2 separate regions of the Homo sapiens genome follow, and region 1 is linked to region 2. The links are contacts of gene promoters, found by promoter capture Hi-C in blood cells and fetal thymus (Javierre and others, 2016). All regions are on one chromosome and are shown on one strand. Each heading gives the region's core, a stretch centred on a gene start or on the middle of the fragment in contact. The rest is flanking DNA. Distances are from core to core; before and after follow the strand shown. Region 1 overlaps CASC11 (cancer susceptibility 11). Region 2 holds the start of POU5F1B (POU class 5 homeobox 1B).

Region 1 (5,953 bases), core at 2,388-4,887, 300 kb before region 2:
ATGACCATTTCTGTACAAATGTTTGTGTGAATATATGTGTTCTTTTATCTTGGGTCTATCTATCTATTGATGGATGGAAATGCTGGATCATATAGTTTTGCTTTTTTTTTTTTTTTGAGATGGGGTCTCCCTCTGTTGCCCAGGCTGGAGTGCAGTGGCACAATCTCCGCTCACTGCAACCTTTGCCTCCTGGGCTCAAGCAGTCCTCCCACCTCAGCCTCCCGTGTAGCTGGGACCACAGGTGCATGCCACCACGTCCAGCTGATTTTTGGTATTTTTGGTATTTTTGGTAGAGGCAGGGTTTCACCATGTTGCCCAGGCTGGTCTTGGAATCCTGAGCTCAAGCAATCCACCCACCTAGGCCTCCCAAACTGCTGGGATTACAGGCATGAACCACCACACCCAGCCTTCATATAGTAATTCTATTCTCACCATATGAGGAAATGTTGAACTGTTTTTCAAAGTGGTTGCACCATTTTATTTATTTATTTATTTTTATTTTTATTTTTTTTGAGATGGAATTTTCCTCTTGTTGCCCAGGCTGGAGTGCAATGGCACAATTTCGGCTCACTGCAACCTCTGCCTCCTGGGTTCAGGTGATTTTCCTGCCTCAGCCTCCCGAGTAGCTGGGATTACAGGTGCCTGCCACCACACCTAGCTAATTTTTTTTTTTTTTTTTGAGAAGGAGTCTTGTTCTGTTGCCCAGGCTAGAATGCAGTGGCATGATCTCGGCTCACTGCAACCTCTGCCTCCCAAGTTCAAGCGATTCTCCTGCCTCAGCCTCCTAAGTAGCTGGGATTACAAGTGCCCACTACCGCACCAGGCTAATTTTTGTATTTTTTAATAGAGACAGGGTTTCACCATCTTTGCCAGGCTGGTCTTGAACTCCTGATCTCATGATCCACCCACCTCGGCCTCCCAAAGTGCTGGGATTACAGGTGTGAGCCACCACGCCCAGCCACGCCTAGCTTATTTTTTGTATTTTTAGTAGAGACAGGGTTTCACCATGGCCAGGCTGGTCTTGAACTCCTGACCTCAGGTGATCCTTGGCCTCCCAAAGTGCTGGGATTAGAGGCGTGAGCCACCGTGCCCATCCAGCACCATTTTATATTCATGCCAGCAGTATATGAAGTTTCAATTTCTCCACATCCTTGTCAATACTTGTTGTTATCTTTCTTTCTCTATTTTTCATTATAGTCATGTCAGTGGGCGTGAAGTGGTATCTCACTGTGCTTTTTGACTTGCCTTTCTTTTTTGTTTTTTTGTTTCTTTTGAAGCAGAGTCTTTTCTGTTCACCCAGGTTGGAGTGCAGTGGCACAGTCACGGCTCACTGCAGCCTTGAACTTGAGAGCTCAATTGATACTCCTATTCCAGCCTCATGAGTAGCTGGGACAGCTGGGACTACAGCCATATGCCACCATGCATGGCTAATTATTGTATTTTTGCATAGAGAGTGTTTCACCATCTTGCCCAAGCTGGTTTGAACTCCTGGGCTCAAGCAATCTGCCCTGCCTCAGCCTCCCAAAGTGATGGGATTACAGGCATGAGCCACCATGTCCTGCCAACATGGAGCAACTTTCCATGTGCTTATTGGTCATTTGCCAGGCCTGTTGTAAGTGCTTAGGTCTAGCAATGCTTTACTCCATGACAGCCTTGGGGATAAGTACTATTGTTACTACCTTTTCCTATCACATGCCAGGCTCAGACTTTTAGTTGCAAGCTTTCTTGTCAACAAATAAAATGAATACTATTCAATGCAAGGACATTTTAGTTCCGACTCAACTGTCAATGTATAGTTAGCACTTAATAGTCAGTGCCTCAGTAATTCCTATTTATCCTGTTTTTCCTGACTCAGAAACTTTGTACATGCTATTTTTTTCCTTGATTAATTATTTCCTTGGTTAATTTAAAAATTTAATTTAAATTTTCCATTTAAATTTTTGTTCTGGCTGTTTCTGCTTTAATATTATTATTATTATTATTTGAGATGGAGTCTCAATTTGTCACCCAGGCTGGAGTGCAGTGACACAATTTTGGCTCACTGCAACCTCCACCTCCCAAGGTTCAAGCGATTCTCCTGCCTCAGCCTCCTGAGTAGCTGGGACTACAGGCATGCACCACCACACCCAGCTATTTTTGTATTTTTAGTAGAGATGGGGTTTCACCATGTTGGCCAGGCTGGTCTCAAACTCCTGGCCTCAGGTGATCTGCCCATCTGAGTGCTGGGATTACAGGCATGAACCACCACACCTGGCCTTTCCTGGCTATTTCCTTGTTTAATTTTTTCCTTGACTAATTTTTGTTTATCTTCTACATTTTCAGAGAGGCTTTCCTGACCTTCCTGTCTAAATTAGGACCCTTATTCTTTCTCACAGCCCTGTTGATTTACCATAATAACATTCATTTATTTTTGTGCCCTTATATTTTCTTATCTTTCTTTTAAATGAAAGTTTTTGTTTTATAAATTTGTAATCATGCTATAAATGTTCCTTTGAATCTGCCTTTTTTCCCATTTCACATTGTGTTACAAAAATTGTCAGCATCATTGAAAGCAAATGTTAAATGGCTGCAAAATAGTCTATTAGGTGATTATAAAATACCTCATTTAATCATTTCCTTTTTAAAATTTGAAGTGTGTCATTGATTTGCTATGGTAAATAACACTGATATGAACATCTTTGGGAATAAATCTGTTCTTAATTTTTAGGATACTTTTCTTAGTATAGAATCCAGAATTATTGAATCAGAGGCATTTGTAAAGTCCTTGATTCATATTACTAAAGCTTGAGGAAAAAAGGAGATGTTGTAATTTGCACTGCCTCAGGAATATATGAGAGTGCTACACTAATGAGACTCATGTCAGTACTGTTTATTATCATTTTAAAAACAGCTTTGCTGTAGTCTGCATTTCTTTGATTTACAGTGGAAGCACATCTAATAATTGCACAAATGACAGAAACACATCTTAACTGATACTCCAATTAAAAAAAATAGATAGTACATTATTAGTGCATTTTCCTAAAGGAGCCCAAGAAAGACTGAATAGGAGCATTTGTAGGTGAGGATAAGAGAATGAAGTGACCTGAACAGGCTCGAGAAAATTGCTGATGATGGGATTTGCAGATAAGGCAGAAGGACACATGGCTGGACTCTCAGTCTGCAGCTCATTTTTTATGCCTTATCAGAATAGAGGGCTGCTCCCCTGTAGATGATGGCTACACCTGGCAGTGTAATAAAAAGTGCTGTGGGTGGATGGGAAGCGCTGTGGAGATGGCTCCTGGTGCAGAAGACACAGAACTGAAGATGCTGACAGTTGCAATGAAAGGAGACTTGGAGAACACTGAGAGGTTAGGAGTTTTCAGACATTTTATTGGATTTATTTTATTTTATTTTTTTTCTTGAGACAAGACCTCCCTCACCTCTGTCACCTGGCTGAAGTGCAGTGGCATGATCGCGGCTCAACGCAGCCTCAACCTCCTGGGCTCAGGTGATCCTCCCACTTCAGCCTCCTGAGTAGCTGGAACTACAGGTGCACACCACCACACCTGGCTAATTTTTGCAGTTTTTTGTAGAGATGAGGTTTCACCATGTTGGCAAGGCTGGTCTTGAACTCCTGGACTCAAGCGATCCACCCATCTCGACCTCCCAAAGTGCTGGGATTATAGGCATGAGCCAACACTCCCAGCCTTTATTTGGTTTACTTTACAAGTGGACTATGTTTTTTTCTCTGTAAAATCTCAACATGAAACCTGGGGTGGGGATGGACAGGGGAAAACAGAAGGGTGATTTGGTCCACTCTCTCACTCATCAAGGGCCTTGAGATATTGGCCATTATCTCTGGGTGAGATTATTGTTATTATTATTTTAAGATGAAGTTTCACTCTTGTTGCCCAGGGTGGAGTGCAGTGGCACGATCTCGGCTCACTGCAACCTCTGCCTCTCCAGGCGAGATCATTAATGCAGTCCCAGAGACATACTGAAAGGATGGAGAGATTTTCAGCCTTTGACTCTCCAATAAGCACTTACATGTATTCATCATTTAGTCCCCACAGCAACCCAATCAGATCAGTGCCCATTTTATTTACATTTTACAAAAGAGGTAACTGCAGTGTGGGAATGTTAGCTTGCCTGGGATTCAAGAATAAATGGTACCAAGGTGGGCAGATCACTTGAGGCCAGGAGTTCAAGACCAGCCTGGGTAATGTGTCAAAAGCCAGTCTCTACTAAAAACACAAAAATTAGCTGGGTGTGGTGGTGCATGCCTTTAGTTCCAGGTACTCAGGAGGCTGAGGCACGAGAACTGCTTGAGCCCAGGAGGCGGAGGTTGCAATGAACCAAGATCATGCCACTGTACGCCAGCCTGGGCATCAGAGTGAGACTATCTCAAAAAGAAAAAAAAAAAAGTAAATGGTGGAACAGGGATTCAAATTCAGGCAGTGTGAAGAGGACAGGATGGAGATTTTGAAACTGGAGAGCATGAGCCAAGCTTAAGTGGGTTATCACTGGGAAAATGTGGTTCATTTTGGTTCATCTCTAAAGCTAAATTTTTATTGAAGTTGATATTAGCCAACCTTGGCTTCCTGAAAGATATCAATTAAATCAAGCAGTTGAAGTAAGCGGAAGAGATGGATGGCAGGGAAGGTCAGGAGACCCTCATTTATCCATTTGAGAGCAAGAGCCTGAAGAAATCAATAGGACATTCCTGTTAACTGTCCATTCACTTGTTCTTCCTCAGATTGGTAATTTCTGAACTAGGCAGTGTCGTGGTTAGAGAAGAGAGGACATCAAGTTCCAATGCTGTTGTCCCTACTCCATAAATCTGTACTACTCAAACTCTCTCAGCCTTCATCTTCTTATCTTTAAAATGGGGATAATAAATACCTCATGGAATTCTTGGGAGGAATAATTAAGATAATGCATATAATGCGCTTATAGTACTTGGCGCATATTATGTGTTCAATCAATGTAAACTTAATATTTAGTAATTTTTTTTCAACAAATGTTCACTTAGCTTTACTTGTGCGTTATTGGGTTGGTGGAAATGTCTTGGATGACCCACTAATGGATAAGATAAACTTCTGAGGGTAAAGGTTTTAGGTGCAAAACCCTCTTATCATGAAATGTGTTTAAAGGTAAGTTTGGAGGGATAGGACTGTATAACTTACCTATGATACAGATAGCTCAGGAGAAAGAGAATGGCCACAAAGTCCACTGAGAAAACAGAGTAAGCAAGGTCTTCTTGACATGGATTGTGAATTATGTGTCTTTCATTTTTATTTCTTTTGAGACAGGATCTCTCACTCTCACCCAGGTTGGAGTGCAGTGGTGTGATCACGACTCACTGCAGTCTTGAACTTGCCAGGCTCAAGCAATCCTCCTACCTCAGCCTTCTGAGTAGCTGAGACCACAGGGATGTGAAGAGACAGGGTCTCACTATATTGCCCCGGCTAATCTCGAACTCCTGGACTCAAGCAATCTGCCCGCCTCAGCCTGCCAAAATGCTGGGATTACAGGTATGAGCCAAGGCGGCCTATGTGCCATTTAGCTGTCTAAGATGAACAAAAGGAAACAACCAAAACACTAACACTTCTTTGTTACTTAAAGTCAAAATGAGGACCTCTGTCAGAAAGCTACATTTACCCTGTCTCTGAGAAAGCAGAGTTGAATGAACTGGAAAGAATTTGGGCCATAAAACAAGGTCCCTGAATTAGCAGATCACCTTCTGTGAATAAATCATCTAAATATTACATCAGAGCTCAAGCAAAATTTTGTGTCTCTGAAGTGACACTTTGAATCACTTTTCCTGTGATTAAAAAAAAATGGCCAGGCGCGGTAGCTCACGCTTTTAATCCCAGCACTTTGGGAGGCCGAGGCAGGCATATTCCGAGTCCAGGAGTTCGAGACCAGCTTGGCCAACATGGCAAAACCCTGTCTCTACAGAAAAATACAAAAA
Region 2 (6,822 bases), core at 455-2,954:
ATACAAAAATTAGCCAGTCTCATAACCTGGTCTCAAAATAAATAAGTAAATAAATAAAATTTTAAAAAATTAAATTAAAAAATGAATTATCTGTATCATGGGGAATGGTTAATGCTCACATTTTTGTGGAATATGTGAGGGAATGGTGAGGGCCGAACTATGCCGTTAGCGGTCAAAAGAGGTTTTGTATCAGGACAAATAGGATGTCTTGAAGAAAAACTACAGCTACCATCAAGTAGCACTCTAGGAAAAGGTAAAAAGGAGGAAAAAAGCAAGTATTTATTGAATACCTACTACGTGCCACACATTTTACCACACTTAAAAAATTATTACTCAATTATGTTACTTTTCTTTTCTTTCTTTTTTTTTTTTTTTTACTGTGTCCCAGGCTTCTTTATTTAAGAAAAAAGTGATACATGATGTGGGATTAAAATCAAGAGCATCATTGAACTTCACCTTCCCTCCAACCAGTTGCCCCAAACTCCCCTGCCCCCACCCTTAGTGTTCCCAATTCCTTCCTTAGTGAATGAAGAACTTAATCCCAAAAGCCCTGCCACAAACTCCAGGTTCTCTTTCCCTAGCTCCTCCCCTCCCCTGTTCCCCATTCCTAGAAGGGCAGGCACCTCAGTTTGAATGCATGGGAGAGCCCAGAGTGATGACGGAGACTGGGGGAAAGACTTCCCCCTCAGGGAAAGGGACTGAGGAGTACAGTGCAGTGAAGTGAGGGCTCCCATAGCCTGGGGTACCAAAATGGGGCCCTGGGGCCGGAGGAAAGGACACTGGTCCCCCTGAGAAAGGAGACCCAGCAGCCTCAAAATCCTCTCGTTGTGCATAGTCGCTGCTTGATCGCTTGCCCTTCTGGCGCCGGTTACAGAACCACACTCGGACCACATCCTTCTCGAGCCCAAGCTGCTGGGCGATGTGGCTGATCTGCAGTGTGGGTTTCGGGCACTGCAGGAACAAATTCTCCAGGTTGCCTCTCACTCGGTTCTCGATACTGGTTCGCTTTCTCTTTCGGGCCTGCATGAGGGTTTCTGCTTTGCATATCTCCTGAAGATTTTCATTGTTGTCAGCTTCCTCCACCCACTTCTGCAGCAAGGGCCGCAGCTTACACATGTTCTTGAAGCTAAGCTGCAGAGCCTCAAAGCGGCAGATGGTCTTTTGGCTGAACACCTTCCCAAATAGAACCCCCAGGATGAGCCCCACATCGGCCTGTGTATATCCCAGGGTGATCCTCTTCTGCTTCAGGAGCTTGGCAAATTGCTCGAGTTCTTTCTGCAGAGCTTTGATGTCCTGGGACTTCTCCGGGTTTTGCTCTAGCTTCTCCTTCTCCAGCTTCACGGCACCAGGGGGGACGGTGCAGGGTTCCGGGGAGGCCCCATTGGAGTTGCTCTCCACCCCGACTCCTGCTTCGCTCTCAGGCTGAGAGGTCTCCAAGCCGCCTTGGGGCACTAGCCCCACTCCAACCTGAGGCCCACAGTACGCCATCCCCCCACATAACTCATACGGCGGGGGGCAAGGGGGAATCCCCCACACCTCAGAGCCTGGCCCAACCCCCGGCCCGATTCCTGGCCCTCCAGGAGGGCCTTGGAAGCTTAGCCAGGTCAGAGGATCAACCCAGCCCGGCTCCGCCCCCCATGGCCCATCACCCCCACCGCCTGGAGGGGGCGAGAAGGCGAAATCCGAAGCCAGGTGTCCCGCCATGGGGAAGGAAGGCGCCCCAAGCCGGGGGCCTGGTGAAATGAGCAATTATGTTACTTTTCATTGAAAGCTCTGTGACCGTATGGCTGTGTGTGTCATACGCTCACTAGCAATGAACACAGTGCCTGAAGCATCATTAAATGTTGACTGAATGTGTTAGGAACTCTTCAAAAGTAATCTCTTTAAATCATAATCACCTGTGAATTGACAATTATTATCTTCACTTTGTGGATAAGAATGCCAAGATTTGGAAATGTTGAATAATGTGTCCATTGTGTCAGTGGCCGATCTGAAATTCCAGTGTAGGCACCATGATTCCTGAGTCCATTCTGCTTCTGCCATACCATGATGCTAGATTCTTCATGGGAGCCATCTACTTGTGTTCTGTGCTATGGAATGGTGTGTCCTTCTTTCTGATTCTTATTTCCTGCAGATTGTGGGGAAACGGTTCTACCATTAACAACCAAAGGCAAAATGGGCTGCAACCAAAGAAATTCCCTGACCTAATTCTTTATAGTTGGTGACAAGTGTGCTGTAGTGACGGGAAATAGCACTCTATGAAGATTTAATAGTGCAAATTCTACCCTCCTGACAACCCCTTTCTTCAGCACTGGATGGGTGTATTAGTTGTTTATCATTGTGTAATAGATCACCTCAAAACTTAATAGCTTAAAAACAACTAACACATAGCTCACAGTTTTGTAAAATAGCAATTGTGGTGTGGCTTAACTGGGTATCCTGGATAAGGGTATTTCATGAGGTTGTGGTCAAGATGAGAGCAGGGGATGTTGTCATCTGGGAGCCTAACGGGGGCTGGAGGATCCACTTTCCAAAATGTCTCACTTACTTGGCTGTTGGCAAAGGCCCCGGTTTCTTGTTGGCTGTTGGTAGGAGGCCTCAGTTGCTCACCATGTGGGCTTTTCCATAAAGCTGCTTGAGTGTCCTCACAACATGTCAGCTGGATTCACCCAGAGAGAATGACCTAAGAAAGAGAGAGCAGGGAAGAAGCCACTGCGTTCTTTATGACCTAGTCTCTGAAATCGCACACTTTTACTTGTGCCATATTTTATTCATTAGAAGTGAGTCACATTCTGTAGGAGGGTAATTAGCCTTCACCATTTGGCAGGAGGACTATCAAATAATTGGTGGGCATATTGTAAAGCTATCATAATGGTTCTGGTAGGCCATGTTTTTGCCTCTGCCACTCAAATATTGGATGTCCATTTCTTAAAGGGATTGTGAAAAGAGAAGGGGCTTTAGAATAAGACAGGCAAATGTTTAAACATTGAGTAAATTTTTAATGTCCTTAACCCTTGTTTCTCAACCATAAAATGAGAATGATCATATCAAATCTTCACAGTTTTGCAGGATGGGTTGCAGGTAATAAAGTCCTAGTGCAATGTCTGGCACAAGGTAAGTGTTTAAGCAGTGGGCTCCTTTCTGTTACATAATGTGGCAACCCTCTTCTCCCCTCTCTACCTCTCAAATATGTGTCTGAGTCAGAACACCAAAGTCACACACACACAGGTACAAAACAATTCCTGATTCTATTCCATTTCCATCATGCCATGCTGCCAGTTTCTCCATGGGGCCATCTTTACTTCTGTAGTAAGGAATATAGTTACTTGTTACAGAAATTAGATTCCAGAATTGGGATATGAGTTGGAAAGGGAACTTAAACGTTCTCCTTCAGTCTTGCTCAAATTCTCATGCTTATTTGACGTTCTTGAGTGTTTCCAATAAGATAGATATGACTTTACCTCTAGATTCTCCCACTTGTTATCCTGCCAACCTTAAGTCCCCTTTCTCAGGGTAATAACTTTCTGCTCAATTCTGTTGTGAGGTTTAAGTCAAGTAAGATGTGTGTAATTTTCTCATGAAACAGTAGCTATTATTTATTGTTTATCATTTTATCATTAACTTCTGTTCCTTTAGACCTGACTAAAATATTTCTAGTGTCATTTGAAAATATTGTATTATATCGGGTGTTGTGTGTGTGTGTGTGTGTGTGTACCACCTTTTTTTAAGAAGCACAAAATGTGTTTGACCAGTTACTTAGATTATTTATTTCTCACAAAATGAAGTCAAGTCCATATTGTCTCATTTAGCAGAAAAGTGAAATAGAAGGTTAATAGGTTGGCCTAAGCCTCACAGCTGGTAAGTATAGCTACCTAGATTTGAACCATGAAAATCGTTTGAGGTGATGCTCTGCTTTATTTAATCTGTTCAGACAATGGCATTGTGGTTTCATGGGGAGACAGGCTAGATTTTGTGACCTGAACGTCTACTCGTTTGACTATGTAGTACAACTAAAAATTGTGAATCCGCTAACTAAGTCTTTGTGTTTAATTTAGTTTAGTGCAATAATAATTTCTAGGGATATCACAGGCCAGGCACTGGGATAGATAATGAGGTACAGCTAGGTGAAGGGGGCAGGATGGAAATGCTGAGGTACAGAAGGGTCATAAAGCCCATTGTAATGTTCCATTTTTGTCTCTAGATAATGACAAGCAGACAGTAACACACTGGTAGCAAACATTGAAGACTGGTGGCCCAGGGGCTCTGATGTTGATGAAATTCCTGATGAAATTGAGTTTGGTAATTATACAGTTGACCTGCTTGAAAGAAAGATATCACAGTAGAACAATTTCCTTGGTTCTGCCATTTCATTTATCACCATTGTTTGTCTTTGTTGTCAGTATTAACATCAATTATTAATCTTAATGCTCATTTTCCTTCCTAGCCTTCTTTCCTGTCTGACATGTGGAATCTCTTGCTATTAAATTGAGAGGCAGGTGGAAACATTAGTCCTTCTTACGTCATTGGTCATTATTTCTTCTGAACGAAGAGTTTTTTTCAGTGGGGGCAGGACAATTGGAAAAATCCATTCCAAGTGGCATAAAGACTGGTTTCTTTGCTCTGTACAAAGTATCCCAGTATCACTTAAGTAGCTATTTCTCTGAGGTTGGACCTCAACTAGAACCATGATGGTTGGATGCAGAGAAACTGGCAAATAGGTTAAATTGAAAGCAGGTAGAAATCACAACACTTGGGATGGCAAAAACAGCTAGCTGCCTCCCAAGATCTGCTCTCCCTTTCTGTCTTAGTAACCTAACCTCATTTTATATAAGATAGCAGGCCATCCAGCTAAAAGACTATATTTACTAGTCTTCCATGGCACTAAGTTGTGACCAATGAGAATCAGCAAAAATACAGCGTGAAACTTTTGGGGAGGCTGTTTAAAGGAAGCTGAGTTAACAGGAACTCTCCCTTCCTCTTCAGGCCATTGCCCTTTTCCTTCTAGCCTACAACATGGATGTAATGGTAGCACTCCAGAAGCCATCTTGAACTGTAAGTCAACATTAGGCAGAAGCTGCAAGCGAGATGGTGAGGCAGAATGAAGAAGCTTGGACCCCTGATGACCATTATATCATGCTCAGACTTCCCACCTCTGATCTTCTAGTATGAGAGAGATATTTATATACCCAAGTTATTTAAATCATTGATTTTTTTTAGAGTTTCTGTTACATGAAGCTGGTTCTCACCATAAAAGATAAGACTGGAAGTGGCTAGGTGGGGTAGAGGGGTTTGGAGATGTTGAGACAGAGAAAAAAATCAAAGAAGACTCTTGGGTTATTTGGGTGGTGGTCTGATTCACTGAGAAATAATACACAAAAGGAAAAACAAGATTAGAAGAGAAGAGAATTGACATAGTTTTGGAAATTTTAAGGTAGAGGGAGCTGCAGGACATTTAGGAGTGGGAGTCTTAGAGTCAGCTGGATATATGTGTTAGATGCTATAACGAAATATTAAGGAAGGAGATACAGGTTTGGCCATAACTATCATGTGTGTGATCTGTAAAGCTACTGTAGTGGACTAAATTACCCAAGAAGACTTAGATGGTGTTGAAAATTAACATAGAGAAGCTGGGTGAGCTTACTGCGGGACAACTGAGGGTGGTATACATCCAGGTAAGCAAATAATTATGATTCCAGTCAGGATGTGGTAAATACACCATTAATGATCCACTTAATTATTCTTCCCCTAGGTAGTCATATTTTGATAGGATGGCAAATAAACAAAATTTTAAGGAATTAGTTTCTCTCTTTCCAAGGGATCTAAGGCAGAGACTACTGCCAAACAGAGGCACAAATCACCAAGAGATAACTAGCATTGCCCCGTAAATTGATAGAATTTCAGGCACATCAAAGCCTTGTGATGTCTGAACCTATGTGTTCTAATCATAGGCGTGTAAGTTATTTCCACAGGAGTTGTACATTATTGCAATGGACTAATGAATTTCCCCTAACATCTTCAAGGAATAACAAAGGAGCGGACAAAGCATGGATCTAGAAATTAGTTAAGACTGAGTATGTTTGTTCTAACAGTTTCTACCTATACTATCCCACCTTAACCATCTCAGTCCCATTTTCTCATAGGAAAATGCAGTAATGTCTCTACTTCATGGTTCTACTGTGAGAAATACGGGATGATATATTTTAAGTATTGGAATAGTACCTGGCACATCAGACACCCATAATTCCTCATCTTATTTGGTTAACGAAAGTCTAAAGCCCCAGGAATCTGGGGTTCATTTTATAGATGCTTTCAGTTTGAAGATTCCATTATCATAGGGTTTTCTTGTCCAGAAGAGAAAGAACTTTAATGAAAAAACTTAAAAAGGAAAGAAATGGGGGTAGGGCTGGCATATTGCACTGCTCCATGGGATGCCATTTACATTATATTGATGCAAACCGCTGCCTTGGAATTGGGTAGTGTGCCCCCTGTATAACTGTAGGCAGTGACCCTGTTTGGAAGCTACCTCTTAAGATGTTCTTAATAATAATGTCTGTTATCTATTAAAATAAGAAAAGGTATGTCACCATGGGTTTTGTCTTTTGTTGTCTGTAGTTGTTGAGGTTGGACTTCTCAAGGCCTCTTAAGACCCTCACTTTCCCTACTCTCTGACATACACTTAGTACTTTCTTTTTGCTAATTTTTGCTTCCTTTTTTTTTTTTTTTTTTGCACATGCTACTCCCTTCTTCTGGAATTCTATCCTAATTTGGATTTCTCGTGTATCTCTATTTTTTTTTTTTTTTTTTTTAAGAATCAGCTCAAAT

What was found. Contacts are between HindIII fragments. The CHiCAGO score rates a contact against its expected background, and 5 or more counts as called.
Region 1: a contact is called between a fragment that was not itself captured here and the fragment with the promoter of POU5F1B in region 2, in 1 of 17 cell types (M2 macrophages). The highest score is 5.9, in M2 macrophages.

What each region holds. Positions count from the first base shown.
Region 1 is chr8:127,715,507-127,721,459 of GRCh38, reverse strand. It overlaps CASC11 (cancer susceptibility 11), which reads left to right. Exons shown (of 4, transcript NR_117102.1): 2 at 5,292-5,513. Among named protein-coding and RNA genes, the nearest start is that of CASC11, 15 kb to the left of the region's middle. The HindIII fragment of the contact is 1,703 bases long and covers 2,786-4,488 here.
Region 2 is chr8:127,410,749-127,417,570 of GRCh38, reverse strand. POU5F1B (POU class 5 homeobox 1B) reads right to left here and starts at 1,704. Exons shown (of 1, transcript NM_001159542.3): 1 at 625-1,704. The coding sequence starts at 1,704. The coding sequence ends at 625. The region is part of intron 5 of CASC8 (cancer susceptibility 8); the gene reads left to right. The HindIII fragment of the contact is 3,513 bases long and covers 1,597-5,109 here.